2 separate regions of the Homo sapiens genome follow, and region 1 is linked to region 2. The links are contacts of gene promoters, found by promoter capture Hi-C in human tissues and cell types (Jung and others, 2019). All regions are on one chromosome and are shown on one strand. Each heading gives the region's core, a stretch centred on a gene start or on the middle of the fragment in contact. The rest is flanking DNA. Distances are from core to core; before and after follow the strand shown.

Region 1 (2,700 bases), core at 116-2,615, 1.0 Mb before region 2:
AGTTGATGCAGTTTCTTCCTAGCATCCATGGTCTTTACAATTTGGCATGTTTTTGCAATGGCTGGTACCAGTTGTTCCTTTCCATGTTTAGTGCTTCCTTCAGCAGCTCTTGTAAGGCAGGCCTGGTGGTGACAAAATCTCTCAGCATTTGCTTGTCTGCAAAGGATTTTATTTCTCCTTCACTTATGCAGCTTACTTTGGTTGGATATGAAATTCTGGGTTGAAAATTCTTTTATTTAAGAATGTTGAATATTGGCTCCCGCTCTCTTCTGGGAGATCCGCTATTAGTCTGATGGGCTTCCCTTTGTGGGTAACCCGACATTTCTCTCTGGCTGCCCTTAATATTTTTTTCCTTCATTTCAACTTTGGTGAATCTGACAATTATATCTTGGAGTTGCTTTTCTCGAGGAGTATCTTTGTGGTATTATCTGTATATCCTGAATTTGAATGTTGGCCTGCCTTGCTAGGTTGGGGAAGTTCTCCTGGATAATATCCTAAAGAGTGTTTTCCAACTTGATGCCATTCTCCCCGTCACTTTCAGGTACACCAATCAGATGCAGATTTGGTCTTTTCACATAGTCCCATATTTCTTGGAGGCTTTGTTCATTTCTTTTTACTCTTTTTTCTCTAAACTTCTCTTCTTTCTTCATTTCATTCATTTGATCTTCAATCACTGATACTCTTTCTTCCACTTGATCGAATTGGCTACTGAAGCTTCTGCATGCGTCACGTAGTTCTCGTGCCCTGGTTTTCAGCTCCATCAGGTCCTTTAAGGTGTTCTCTATGCTGTTTATTCTAGTTAGCCATTCATCTAATCTTTTTTCAAGGTTTTTAGCTTCTTTGTGATGGGTTTGAACATCCTCCTTTAGCTTGGAGAAGTTTGTTATTAGCTATCATCTGAAGCCTCTTCTCTCACCTCGTCAAAGTCATTCTCCATCCAGCTTTGTTCCATTGCTGGCGAGGAGCTGCCTTCCTTTGGAGGCTAAGAGGTGCTCTGATTTTTAGAATTTTCAGCTTTTCTCCTCTGGTTTCTCCCCATCTTTGTGGTTTTATCTACCTTTGGTCTTTGATGATGGTGACGTACAGATGGGGTTTTGGTGTGGATGTCCTTGCTCTTTGTTAGTTTTCCTTCTAACAGTCAGGACCCTCAGCTGCAGGTCTGCTGGAATTTGCTGGAGGTCCACTCCAGACCCTGTCTGCTGGGGTATCACCAGCGGAGGCTGCAGAACAGCAAATATTGCAGAACAGCAAATGTTGCTGCCTGATTCTTCCTCTGGAAGCTTTGTCTCAGAGGGGCACCCAGCTGTATGAAGTGTCAGTTGGCCCCTACTGGGAGGTGTCTCCCAGTTAGGCAACTCGGGGGTCAGGGACCCACTTGAGGAGGCAGTCTGTCTGTTCTCAGATCTCAAACTCTGTGCTGGGAGAATCGCTGCTCTCTTCAAAGCTGTCAGACAGGGATGTTTAAGTCTGCAGAAGTTTCTGCTGCCTTTTATTCAGCTATTCCCTGCCCTCAGAGGTGGAGTCTATAGAGGCAGGCAGGCCTCCTTGAGCTGAGGTGGGCTCCACCCAGTTTGAGCTTCCTGGCCACTTTGTTTACCTACTCAAGCCTCAGCAATGGCGGACGCCCCTCACCCAGCCTCGCTGCCACCTTGCAGTTTGATCTCAGACTGCTGTGCTAGCATTGAGCAAGGCTCCATGGGTGTGGGACCCTCCAAGCCATGCACAGGATATAATCTCCTGGTGTGCTGTTTGCTAAGACCATTGGAAAAGCACAGTATTAGGGTGGGAGTGTCCCAATTTTCCAGGTACCATCTGTCATGGCTTCCCTTGGCTTGGAAAGGGAATCCCCCCACCCCTTGCACTTCCCAGGTGAGGCGATGCCCCACCCTGCTTCGGCTCACACTCCATGGACTGCACCCATTGTCTGACATGCCCCAGTGAGATGAACGCAGTACCTCAGTTGGAAATGCAGAAATCACCCATCTTCTGCATCGCTCATGCTGGGAGCTGTAGCCCCTGGTACCTATTTTATAGGATTGCTGTGATGGTCAAGTGAGTGAATAGATATAAAGTGTTTAGAACCATGCCTGGCACAAAGCAAGTACTACCTTGGAGCTTGCTATTAAAATAATTTTAACATAATTATGTATATTTATATAAAAATTTACATAATAAAATAATAGCAAGCTCCTACACAGTGCTTGCTTTGTGCCAGGCATGGTTCTAAGCACTTTATGTCTATTCACTCATTTGACCTTCACAGTAATCCTATAAAATAGGTACCAGGATTATCCCCATTTTACAGATGAGAAAACTAAGGCACACAGAGGTTACGTAATTAGGAGATGTTGCAGGTCACTCAGCCTCTAAATTGGATCTAAGATATAGATGCCATAGCTCTTTGAAAAGTTAAAAGCAACAGACATGGGCCAAGGGACATAATGACAATCTGGATGGTGACAATGGTGATAATGCTTGGTCAGTACAGACACACATATCCAAGTAAGAACCAGAGCAAGAGGGGTAGACAAAAGCCAGTCCAAGTTCTCTGGGGGCATTATACTTATGTAATTTGGGGTCCCACTTTAAGAAAAAGTTCAAAATTACATACCAAAATGAATATTTATTTAGAGAGAGAAAAGAAATCACAAGTTAAAAATCTAAAATTGTGTCAAATGCAATAAACACTACAACATAATA
Region 2 (2,700 bases), core at 63-2,562:
CTTTCAGGAACCATTCAAGTTTAGTGTAAACTGTATTCTGAATATAGAGAATTTTTGCTTTTGCTTGTTTTTGTAATCCTACGTGATTTGTATTTAAAAAGACTGGGTAAGATTAAGAAGACGGAGGAGCAAAGGGCTCAGATTCAAGACCTAATTAGCTTGTAGAATCACCAGTTTTCGATGGTGATGTGGAGATTAACAGGGAGGGACGGGCTAATATGAATCATGGCTCTTGGCTGTAAATCATCAGTGATTACGTCCTTTACCAAAGTAAGAAAACAGGTTTGTAGGGAGGCAGAAGTCAGTTTCCAACACTTTGAGTTTGTGGTGTCCTGGAATGTCACCTGATACCTAGTAAGTAGTTCTGGATCTTTGGGTATGGAACTTGAGAAAGGAATCCTGGCTAGAGAGAGAATTCAGGGCAGTTTATCAGTAGATAGCCTAGTAAAATCATCCTTGAGAATCACTGGTCTATTTAATCTCACCTATAAACTCACTTTTCTCTGTAGTTTAGAGGCATATTCAAACACTAATTACTCTGATATGATCCTCCCAACACATCACCTTATATATCCCCTATCCACCAAAAGAAACTTGAAGGGAAGTCCTAACCATCTACCTAGTTCAAATTCTCTTAGAGCATGGCCCAGGGTAGGGAAGGTACGTTAGCCACGTGATTAACTTTTCAGAAGGATACAATTCTGATTTTGCACGTTCACTTTGGTTGTTTTCACTATTGGTAAAGTATAATACTATTAACCATATTAATCCTCACGGCATTAGATGGGTACTATAATTCTATCCATTTAACACGAGAGAACAGGCGCAGAGAGATTAAGGAACTTGCCCCAAGTCACACAGCTATTAAGCAGGTGAGTGAGCCAAAATTCAACCTAGTTCCAAGACCCAGCCCCTTCACCCTACTTTGTTTGCTGTAGTTTAGCCAGATTTTAAAGCATCCACAGCAAGTTAAATTCCCTTATTCCGCTCCCATTCCGTTTTCCCAGAATCCTTAGGGTATGGTATTACAATTTTCTGCACAAGTTTGAGGCTTTAACTCGTAGTCTTGGCCTGAGCCAGCAGATGACATTTTGTTTGGCCGACTAGCCCCTCTAATATAACTCTCCCCCTGCTTCGGGACCTGTTGCCCCTCAGCAGACCGGAAAAACAACAGTGCCCGGGACAGGAACACGCGGCGGCGGAGGGGTCCGGGGGCTCGCCGGCATCCCAGCCCCCCTTCCCCAGGCCCCTCCTCCTGGCCCAGAATGCACCCGGTTGAAAACAAAATCCCACGTGACTGGCTCTCCTCTCAGGCCATCATGGCGTCTCCCAGTGGGAAGGGAGCCCGGGCGCTGGAGGCTCCTGGCTGCGGGCCCCGGCCGCTCGCCCGGGACCTGGTGGACTCCGTGGACGATGCGGAGGGGCTGTACGTGGCTGTGGAGCGCTGCCCGCTGTGCAACACTACCCGCCGGCGGCTGACCTGCGCCAAATGCGTTCAGAGCGGCGATTTCGTCTACTTCGACGGCCGCGACCGGGAGAGGTACGGCGGCCGCCACGGCCCTATTGTTTCTTCTGCTGTGTGTCCTCCAGCCAGGCAGCCGAAGGCTGGAACCTGGGGCTCCCCGTCCGGGCACCAGATACCAGCGAGAGGAGCGAGAGAGAGGGAGTGTAGCTAGCTGCTCTGCACCGGAGCTTTGCTACCAGAGGACAGCGTAGGGGCCAGATGAGGGAAGGTCGCCGTTTCCCCATCACCCACCCAAGAGGAGTTTGACCCCACGGTGCTCTTGGTCACTGGGGAAAAAAGGAATAAGTGGTGACTCTCTGGAGAAGTTTTCCCGTTGCTGCCATTAAGTTAGATTCCCAGCTCTTTGCTGTATGTACTCCCATTCAAAAGCTTGGCTTTCTATTTTCGAAAGCATATTTATACTCATTCTCTAGAGGAGAGAGTAGAAGAGAATCAAATAACTGCTTTAGAGGGATTTGGGCCTGGTAGTCTGTCACAGATGGACTTTGTTATCAGACATGCTTACTCTAATGTGTGAATTGAGGCTTGCTGTTAACGCCCCTTTCCCCTCCCTGCCTCTAAAGATTATTTTAGATTCTTAGGAATTTGGGAACGTGTTTTGGCCTTGTTTTAAAATTCAGATTGGGAGCTGCATGCTTTTAGTTAAGAGAATTGCCTTTAGGAAAATGTTTTGGTTTCATTTCGAAATCTAAACAGCTACAAGTTCTTGGTTAAGAAAATTGAAAAATTAGTGTGATTAGCTGCAGGATCTCCCACTCTCAACTTATGTTTCAACAATTTAGTGTCAATGATAGTCAATGATAGTAAGATAGCTAGCATTCTGAGCACAAAAATTCAGGTATTAATTCATTCGCAACAACCGAATGACTTATCCCCAACTTATTAGGAAGCTGCACAGTAAGTGCTTTGCCCCAGGTCACACAAATAGTTAAGTGTTGGTACAAGAATTAAAATTCAGACAGCTTGGACCTATGTACCCGCACTTAACCACTAGACTTTATATCCTCTATATTTGGGAATGTTTTGAGTTCTTAGTATTTCTGTGATCGTGGATGGAGTTCTTTCCTTTCTCTTTTGAGGAGGTTTGAATGACAAACTCTTTTTTAGTTTTGTTGCTGTGTCTTATTGGTGCTCTTGATGACTTTAGAAACTGCTTATGTAGTAAGTGATAGCTT

What was found. Contacts are between HindIII fragments. The study calls those that stand out against the background at their distance.
Region 1: a contact is called between a fragment that was not itself captured here and the fragment with the promoter of ATG14 in region 2, in 1 of the 25 tissues and cell types used here (dorsolateral prefrontal cortex).

What each region holds. Positions count from the first base shown.
Region 1 is chr14:56,453,817-56,456,516 of GRCh38, reverse strand. No RefSeq gene overlaps it. Among named protein-coding and RNA genes, the nearest start is that of TMEM260, 120 kb to the left of the region's middle. The HindIII fragment of the contact is 3,696 bases long and covers 1-2,700 here.
Region 2 is chr14:55,410,442-55,413,141 of GRCh38, reverse strand. It overlaps ATG14 (autophagy related 14), which reads left to right and starts at 1,312. Exons shown (of 10, transcript NM_014924.5): 1 at 1,312-1,540. The coding sequence starts at 1,320. It also overlaps a transcript of FBXO34 not described here. RefSeq lists a silencer at 1,023-1,322. The HindIII fragment of the contact is 14,251 bases long and covers 1-2,700 here.